Regions from separate parts of the Homo sapiens genome. Here region 1 is linked to region 2. Evidence: promoter capture Hi-C in human tissues and cell types (Jung and others, 2019). All regions are on one chromosome and are shown on one strand. The core of a region is centred on a gene start or on the middle of the fragment in contact, and the rest is flanking DNA. Distances in the headings are between cores, read along the strand shown.

Evidence for each region. The method cuts DNA at HindIII sites, captures the fragments that hold promoters and counts their contacts. A contact is called where the count stands out against the background at its distance.
Region 1: the fragment with the promoter of FZD10 here is called in contact with the fragment with the promoter of PIWIL1 in region 2 in 1 of the 25 tissues and cell types used here (neural progenitor cells).

The regions. Positions count from the first base shown.
Region 1 is chr12:130,161,184-130,165,670 of GRCh38, reverse strand. FZD10 (frizzled class receptor 10) reads right to left here and starts at 3,207. Exons shown (of 1, transcript NM_007197.4): 1 at 1-3,207. The coding sequence starts at 2,728. The coding sequence ends at 983. It overlaps FZD10-AS1 (FZD10 antisense RNA 1), which reads left to right and starts at 3,993. Exons shown (of 4, transcript NR_033834.1): 1 at 3,993-4,487. RefSeq lists enhancers at 381-926, 1,012-2,007, 3,594-4,160, 4,161-4,487. The HindIII fragment of the contact is 10,091 bases long and covers 1-4,487 here.
Region 2 is chr12:130,335,327-130,340,227 of GRCh38, reverse strand. It overlaps PIWIL1 (piwi like RNA-mediated gene silencing 1), which reads right to left and starts at 2,341. Exons shown (of 21, transcript NM_004764.5): 1 at 2,082-2,341. It overlaps LOC101927786 (a long non-coding RNA gene), which reads left to right and starts at 3,988. Exons shown (of 3, transcript XR_242978.5): 1 at 3,988-4,901. The HindIII fragment of the contact is 14,764 bases long and covers 1-4,901 here.

The sequences.
Region 1 (4,487 bases), core at 1,958-4,457, 180 kb after region 2:
AATATACACACGCAGAAACCACTCTTTCCTGGCACTGTGAAGAGAATACACTAGACAAAGTGTCTCTGCCAACCTAGTGCTTCCTGATCTGTTTGTGGAAATCATTTGTTTAACAATAGAAAGAGTCAATAAGCCCTTTGGGTAACTTTTGAATGATCCTTCTCCCTCTTCCCCCCTCCTTTCCACAAATCAGTCCAAACGTCTATAACATTGGCTTGGTTTCCATTAAAAAGCCACAAAATGTAGCACTGAAGGGTTTCTGAGGGCTGGGCCTCTTAGTTCTTTTGTTAGGAGATTTCTTTTGTTGTCTTTATATATAGCAAAATACTTGTTTCTCTTTTTATTTTCAAGGAAAGAGAAAAAAATGTATTGCACATCGTTTGAGTTCACAAATGTGAGGTTTGATGGAGGTTTCTGTCTTGCAGAGAGACTATTGGTGAAGGCCGGAGTCTATTTTAAGCAACTCCAAATCCACTGGGGTGTGAGGCGGGCCCCGGGTCCTGTCTTTCCTCTGCAGGGATGCCGCCCAGCACTGTGGCCTTCCTGGGGGTGGGCCCTGGGGATGGCTCATTTGTTAACCCAGGGGAGGCTCTTGAATTTGCAAAGCAGTTATCTGTCCTCTTATTTGTAAATGGGTAGCAAAGCCAACTCAAATACACAGATGTATATTTAGGGAGGGCTCTAAACAAAAGTTTTCTTCTGAGGGCTGAATCAACTACTTTACCACAAATTAGTTACACAAGAGGCTACTTCACTGGAGGAGCTTCCCTTCGCTGGAAAACCAAAACAAAACAAAACCCTTTAAGTACATTTTTCCTTTCAGTGTATCACAGCATCCTGAATTTCAGGGTAAACACTTTTTTATGTATTTCTCTTTTGCTTTTATAAAAAAAAAAAAAGAAGAAGAAGAAAGAAAAACACAACCAAGAAAAGCACCACATCTTAGCTCCGGGCGCCCCTGTGCCCTTCCCTCCAGCCCTGTTCACACGCAGGTGGGCGACTGGGCAGGGATCTCATATTTCCCGTGGTGAGTTTTCTGGGGATGCTGGGCTTTTTTGTAAATCCCACCGCTGGTGATCACGCTGGCCGGTTTTCTCCGGCTCTTCTTCTTTAACCTACGGCTGCACACCTGCTGCCAGGACTGCAGAGTCTTGGAGGTCCAAATCCACATCCCGCTGGTGATCCCCACCACCAGCAGCATAAAGATCTTCACCATGAAGATCTCCACGGCGGGGATGGAGGCGGCCATCAGGCAGTCCAGCGTTTTAGTCTGGTTGTTCATTTTGCACTTGTGCTGCGCCGCCAGGATCTTCCAGTAATCCATGTTGAGGCGTTCGTAAAAGTAGCAGGCGATCACACAGGTGGCCGGCACGGTGTACAGCACAGAGAAGAGCCCGATACGCACCATGAGCTTCTCCAGCTTGTCCGTGTTCTCGCCGCCCGTCTTCATCACCCTCCGGATGTGGAACAGGGCCACGAAGCCCGAGAGGATGAAGGACGTGCCGATGACCAGGTAGCAGGCCAGGGGAATGAGCACGAAGCCGGTGAGCGCGTTGACGTCCATGCTGCCCACGTAGCAGACCCCGGTGAGCTCGTCCCCCGCCACCCTGCGCATGACCAGGATCAGGATGGTCTTCACCGCCGGGATGGCCCAGGCTGCCAGGTGGAAGTAGCTGCTGTTGGCTTCGATGGCCTCGTGGCCCCACTTCTTGCCGGCGGCCAGGAACCAGGTGAGCGTGAGGACCACCCACCACAGCGAGCTGGCCATGCCGAAGTAGTAGAGGACCAGGAAGACCAGCGTGCAGCCGGTGCTCTCCAGTCCCTCCTGGATGACATAGAGCTGGCCGCTGTCCCGGTCGCAGGCGATGCTCTCGGCGCCGGCGAAGAGGCGGATGAGGTAGCCCACGGAGTAGACGCAGTAGCACATGGAGAGGAAGATGATGGGGCGCTCGGGGTAGCGGAAGCGGGCCGGGTCGATGAGGAAGGTGAGCACGGTGAAGGCGCTGGAGAAGAAGCACAGCACCGCCCAGATGGCCAGCCAGACCACTGCGAAGCGCTTGTCCTCGCGGCTCCAGTACACGTCCACGCCGGGCGTGCAGAGCGGCGCGCACGACGCGCTCTTCTCCACGTGGTGGAACTTGCCCGGGTTGTCGCAGCCGCCGCGCCCGGGGCCCCCGTCCTTCAGCGGGTGCTCCTGCGCGCTGTGGGGCCGCTGCGGCCGGAACAGCGGCGGGAACAGGCCCGAGCCCCGGGTGGGCTCGTCCGAGCCGTTGTTGGGCGCCTCCATGCACAGGTAGTTGGGGTCGTTCTTGTTGGGGAGTTTCCGGCAGTCCAGGGAGTCGGGCCACTTGAAGTTGAACTGCTCCATAATCGGGGAGCACTTGAGCCGGGCCTGCTCGCACATGACCCGGCAGGCGGGGATGGGGGTAGAGACCTGCTCGGTGCACATCGGCGCGTACAGCGAGCACAGGAAGAAGCGGAGGTGGCCGTGGCAGCCGTACTCCACCAGCGGCGCGAACTCGTGCAACTGGATGGCTGCCTCGCGCTGGTTCTCGTGGCCCATCAGGTTGGGCATACGAGTCATGTTGTAGCCGATGTCCTTGCACATCGGGATCTCGATGGGCTGGCATTTGCCGTCGCCCGGGCGCTCCATGTCCATGGAGCTGATGGCGGCGCACGAGCCCATCACCTGCAGGACCAGCCACAGGCGGGGGCCCGGGCGCTGCATGCTGGCGTTGGACGTGTCCTCGCGGGGAGCTCCGCGCCCCTCAGCGCCGCCGCTCCCGGGCACGGGCTGCTGCTGGCCCCGGCTCTCCACCCCTGCTCGGGCCCCCGCCCATGCCCGCCCGGCCTGGCCCGAGCGCTGCGCACAGCGCCCCCGGCTCGGCTCTCCGCGCCCGGCGTCCGCCGAGTTGGGGGCCGCGGCGGAGAGCAGCAAAGTTTGCAAACAATACCGGGAAGCGAGGGAAGCCCCCGGAGCTCCCGGCGCAGCGGCCCGGCGCGAGCTCCAACTCACGGCCGCGGCAAACTTCGGCCTCTTCTTGGAGCGCCCAGGTGGCGCGTCTGGAGCGGGCTGGCGGCGCGGGCACACCGAGGCCGGCCCAGCTCGCGGCGCCCCCACAGCCCGGGCGGCTCCTCCCTCCCTGCGCCGGCCTCGGCCGGGACCAGCCGGCAGCTGTTTCGAGGTTTGCGTCCCGGGATGAGAAGACTCGCAAAAAGGCAAAGGGGGGCAGAAAAGCCGAGCGCTGACAGGCCCCGCCCCCGGGCCGCGCGCCCCGCCCCGCCGCTGCTTTGCATGAGAAAGCGCAGCGGCCCGGGGCAGCCTCCTCCCCGCCGCCCCGCCGCGGGCTCCCGGGCCCCGCGGGGGCCGATCCCCCCCGGCCTGCAGCCCAGCCTGCGGGGGGCGCAGCGCCTAGTCCCGCCCGCGTCGCCCGCCAGCCCCGGGACAGCCCGCCTGGCGCGCGGGGCTCTGCGCGCTGCGACCCTCCCCGGCAGTCCCGCCCGCCTCTCCTCGCCCTCTCTCTGCCTGGCCTCCAACTTTGCCTCTCGCTATCCTCTCCGCCGGCGCCCCCTTTCCCGGCGGTCCCCGGGATGGTCCCCGGCACCCCGAGGACGCCGAGGTTACGGGAAGTTCGGGGACTGGCGGGAGAAGGGGTTTGGGGGTGGTCCGCGGCGAGGGGCGCGGGGTGCATCTTCTCTTCCTTTTATGGTGAGTCCCGGGCGGAGGGCGCTTTCAAAGGGAGGTGGGATTTGCGTTTTATAGCCTGGGCCATAAAGTAGGCCCTTGCTTGTAAACCTGCCCGCATCTTCCTGAGGCTGGGGAGGTGCTACCAGCCCCGGGCTCCGGGCTCCGAGGAGGGATTTTCTTTGAAATTTCAAAGAGACGAGCTAAGGGGAGGGGGAGGGGCTCGAGAATCCGGATTTTAGGGCCGCTCATCCGAGGTCTCCTCTAAGAAGGCGGGAAGGGGGAGGGGCGGGAAGCGTCCCGGGACTTTGAACACCGCCTCCCACCCCGCGGGAAGTGCGGGCTTGGTTTGTACCGCGGTGACCCCCGCCCCCTCCGAAGCCGCAGAGCCGGGGCCTCGCGCCAGCAGGGCTGGAGATGCCTTCTTGGCGGCTGAGTTTATTTATTATAGGAAGTCATTCGCTCGTGGGGTATTTATGTGATTTGGCGAGTGATGTGCCCGGCCAGCGCCCTCCTTGGCTGCAGCCCCGCAGGAGGACCCGGAGTAGGGTGGGATGGAGTGGGTCGTGGGAGGAGCGCGTCAGCGCCTGCCCGGGGACCCCCAGCTCCCGCGAGGACACGGAGGCGCGCACGCCGCTCGGTTTTCCTGGAAAGTGGAGAAGGAGCGTCCTGGGCAGGTCCTCTGAGCTCATCCCCCCTCGGATTGGGGCGGGTCTGTGACGGGGTCACTTAGGACACGACGTCCCCCCGCCATTCCCTTCCCCCGCCCAGGGCGTTCGCGGTGGGCGCCCACCGCCAAGCC
Region 2 (4,901 bases), core at 1,092-3,591:
TACACCGTGGCACACCCTCTGCTAACAAAGCCTCACCCTCCTCTGAAACCACAAGAATCCAGTGAACCGCTTAAGGACCAGCTCGCAGGCCATCCCTTGCTCCCTTCTCCGAAAGCCGTTTCCCCGGCGTGACCACGGTCACCCTACTACATGGTAACCTGTTTTCTCCCTCCCCACATCTCTGCACTCCATAGCTTCTCCAACTAGGCTGCGAATCACAATTGATGCCTTTGCACCCAGTCCGTCGCTTGACACCTTACAAACAACGGTGTGAAACAGTGATTAAAAAACAGTGACAAGCTGAACTCTCATCTCCAGCAGGAAATATTCCTAAAGCAGCACGTCAGTTCTCAAAGCCTGGTCCCTGACGGGCAGCATCTGGACTGGCTGGGAACAGAAATTACGGGGTGGGGAGCGGCTCTCAGCCCTCCCGAGTTAGAAGCCGACTGGAAGCAGCCCTCCAGCTGATTCTCATCATCTCCAGGGCCTGAAACCCACGGCGGCGCGCTGTGCTGGTCACTAAATACCTGGGGGGCTCAGCGCTCTACGTCCAGGTTTCCCAGCACAACTCTGGTTTTCAGCTTTATCTCCTTCCAGTTTCAAAACCACCTCAGTCTGGATATTGAATTCTTAAAGTCAGAAAGCAAGTGTGTGCTTCCAATAACCACACTCGCTGGAAATCACCTCTCCGATTCGCTACCAGCTCTGCCAAAGACGCTTCCACCTAACGTCCCTCCGGCGCTGAGCTCAGGACCACGCCGTGCACGTGGGAACCACCACCGCGCCACACGCCTAAAAACCGTTGAGCGGTACATTCTATGCGAGCGGGGTCTCTCTGGCCACAACTTAAAAACGAAAAGAAAAGCGCTCAGAGAACAGGCTGCGCAGGGGTGCAGCCGGCTTTGCCCTGGAGGCCGCCGGGGCTGAAGACGGCGAGAGCATCCATCCCAGGACGCCACCGCCCCGCCGCCCCTTTCCCTCCACAGGTGCCAAGGGCCGGGCCGCCAGCACCCGCGAGGACCCCCGGGCCTCGCAGAGCCCGGCCGTCGCGGTCGCCGCCTCACTTGGGGTCCTCCGGAGTTCCGTCCTCTTCCCAACGTCCGGCTCCCAAGGCTCCCGGGGGCGCAGCGCAGCGGCGGCGGACGCGGGAAGGGGCCCTCGCCCTCCGCAGAGATCGCGCCCCGCGGCCGCGTGGGTAGTGCGGGAGGTCCCGAAGGCCCTCCTGCAGAGCTCTCAGGTCCCCGCAGTCTCACGCACGGCCGCCAATGCGGAGACCTCCGCCCCCGCACCCCCGGCAACTCAGGCCTCAGCCTCTCACCCCGGCCCCTGCACCTGGGACCTCGCCCCCGCACCCCGGCCCCTGCACCCCCGCACCCCGGCCCTACAGCCCCGGCAAGTCGGGCCTCAGCGCTTCCCCCCGGCCCCGCACCCCCCACACCTGATACATCGCCCCCGCACCCCGGCCCCTGCACCCCAGGCTCCTGCATCTCCCAAACCTGGGACCTCGCCCCCGCACCCGGCTCCTGCATCCCCCGCACCTGGGACCTCGCCCCCGCACCCGGCTCCTGCATCTCCCACACCTGGGACCTCGCCCCCGCACCCGGCTCCTGCATCCCCCGCACCTGGGACCTCGCCCCCGCACCCGGCTCCTGCATCTCCCACACCTGGGACCTCGCCCCCGCACCCGGCTTCTGCATCTCCCGCACCTGGGACCTCGCCCCCGCACCCGGCTCCTGCATCTCCCACACCTGGGACCTCGCCCCCGCACCCGGCTCCTGCATCTCCCGCACCTGGGACCTCGCCCCCGCACCCGGCTCCTGCATCCCTTGCACCTGGGACCTCGCCCCCGCACCCGGCTCCTGCATCTCCCACACCTGGGACCTCGCCCCCGCACCCGGCTCCTGCATCTCCCGCACCTGGGACCTCGACCCCGCACCCGGCTCCTGCATCCCCCGCACCTGGGACCTCGCCCCCGCAACCCGGTCCCCGCACCTCGAGCCTCACCTCCACATCCCGGACCCCCAGCCGCCGCCCCCGCATCCCGGCCCCCGCACACCTAGCACCTCAGCCTGGCCCCGCACCTTGGACCGCTGCCCTCGCCCTAGTCCTGGTCCTTGCACCTCAGCCCGAGGCCAACAGCCCCAACGGCTCCCGCGGAGATCCCTCCGCGCCGCCGACCTCCCAGGACCTCCTTCGGCCCGCGCCCACCTCGCCTTCGGCGCTGGGTTCCCGAGAGAGCCAGGGACACGCGGGCAGCGAGCAACAGGCGCTCTTTTCCCGGGCGGATGAACACCGCCTCCCGGGCGCCGGCCTCGTGTCTGTACGCCATACGCCCAGTAACGGCGGAAAGCGGCGCGCGCCACGCCCTCATTGGCTGCCCCGCAAACGGCGGTTTCTGATGTGGCCGGGGCGGGACCAGAGGAGCCCCGCCCCACAGGCCCCGGCCCCGCCCCTCCAAGACCCCGTCTGGCCCCTCCCGGACACCCGGCACAGGCCCAACAAGCCAGGCCCGCCCCGCCCCACAGGCCCTGCCCCTGGCCCCCCAAGACACCGCCTGGCCCCGGACAGACACCCCGCACATGCCCTGGCCCCTCCCCATAGGCCCCGCCCCCATCCCGCCAAGACCCCGCCTGGCCCTGCCTAGACGCCACGCCCAGGCCCCCACAGGCCCCGCCCCCGCCCCACAGGCTCCGCCCCTGTCCCCCCAAGACCCCGCCTGGCCCCGCCCAGACACCCAACACGTGCCCTGCCCCCTCCCCACAGGCCCCGGCCAGCCCCACCCAGGCCCCGCCCTGTTCCTCTTCTGCTTCGCCCAGACCCCCGGCCTTCCCTGGCTTGACTCCTGCAGTTCCCCCAGTGCCAGCCCCCTGCAGGCGGACACGGGGTCGGGCCAGTTCCCTACTAGCTCGTGGAACTGGGCGGCGGCGCACGAAGTAGACCCTCCATAGACTTCGAAATGGTGCCCACGTGGGCACCGAGCGCCCTACTGTAGCAGTGGACTCGATCTTGGTCTGGCCTTTAACGTCGGAAGCTCTTTCACTCAGCACACAGAGATTTGAACTTTGACCCCAAAGAAAATAAAACTGCAATGCAAGTCTAAGGTGCCAGGAGGCCGTTACCTGGAAATTTAGCTTTCAATGACTTGTGCCTTGGGTGCATGCCAACGTGGACCGCAGGGGTTCTCAGCCTTCACCTGCGGGGGATCACCTGCAGGGCTGGTTAGGACACAGACCAGAGATTCCGGTCTGCAGGCTCCACAGGTGGGCCCCGCCGGCTGCATTTCCAAGGCATCGCAGGTGGTAGCGACCGGGTCTACGCCGAGCTAGGTGCCCTCCATAGGAGTTAATTTCCTCATGGAGGCAAAGTCAACAGCCACAAAACAACCGGAAATATTGTAAGATAGAACAGGTTTATTTGTCAAGGTGGAAGTGGGACTGAGGCTCACTAACTGCCTGACCTGTTATGTTCCATAACTATAAACATGATTGTAGGAGGTAGTAGAAATAGGGTCGCCTCTGCAGACAGGTTTTAAAACTGCATTTATACGGTAAACATAGTGCTTTTCCTTTTTTTTTTTTGTGAGACGGAGTCTCACTCTGTCGCCCAGGCTGGAGTGCAGTGGCAGGATCTTGGCTCACTGCAACCTCCGTCTCCCAGCCTCCTGAGTAGCTGCGACTACAGGCACCCACCACCATGCCCACATAATTTTGTGTTCTTTGTTTTGTTTTGAGACAGGGTCTGGCTCTGTCAGGCTGGAGTGCAATGGTGGGATCATGGCTCCCTGCAGCCTCGACCTCCTGGGCTCAGGTGATCCTCCTGCCTCAGCCTCCCCTGTAGCTGGTACTACAGGTGTGTGCCACCTGTAGTAATTTTTTTGTATTTCTTGTAGAAATACGAGAAATACACCCAGCTAATTTTTTTGTATTTCTTGTAGAAAGAGGGTTTCATCATGTTGCCCAGGCCGGTCTCAAACTTCTGGGCTCAAGTGATCCACCCATCTTGGCCTCCCAATGTGCAGGGATTACAGGCATAAGCCACAGAGCCCGGCCTACATATTGCTTATTATTCATACTTAAAAGCGCATGCCTGGGAATCGGGGGCTGGAGAGGGCTGAAGGCTCCCCAAGCCACCTTCCCAAATCCTACGTCTCATCTGTGCCATGAAAGGGGCAGGTTAGATGTCAGCGTTTCCCACACTAGCCTGAGTGTAAGCATCCACTGAGGGAACTTCCAAATAATACAGACTCCCAGATCACGCTGATTCCAGGAGGTCTGGGACGGGTGCAAGGAATTTCAAGAAGTAACATCAAGTTATTCTTATGCTCAGAGAAGGCTAATAAATTTGGGGCGAGGCCAAAAGGCGTTGGAAGCCAGTAGTTTGAAAGAAAAATAGCTTTCCAAAGGCTTTCGCTTTGTAAAAACTAAATGGTGCCTTTTGGAATACAATGTGAACATAACTTTTCCAAGGATTTAAGGTGTTGATGAGAAAGACATTCTGAGACCTGCCAGCAGATGGAGCCATAAAACAAGAAATAGATGTTTACAGCCTCAACTCGGGAGAAAAATACCGTGAATGCACCTTACACTATAGAAGTAACACTTTTCCCTCTGCTTTATTTTCTCTATATGCTAAACTCCTTACTTGCCTCTGCTAAAGAACATCGCTGGAGTGTCTTGGTGTGTGAAGTATGAAATAGTTTCTAAAGACATAAGTTGTGATATAGCAAGACAGAGGCAAAACCCCTCATTCTTCTGAGAGTGTAAACATCATGTCGCAAGAAGCTCACCTAAAATTTGAAAAGGAAAACTCAACGAAAATTTGAAAAGAAATTCAAGGAAAAAAAAATGTGACCTTTAAAATTTCCATGTTGACAGCACCACCAGGACCCCTTCTGGGATCCG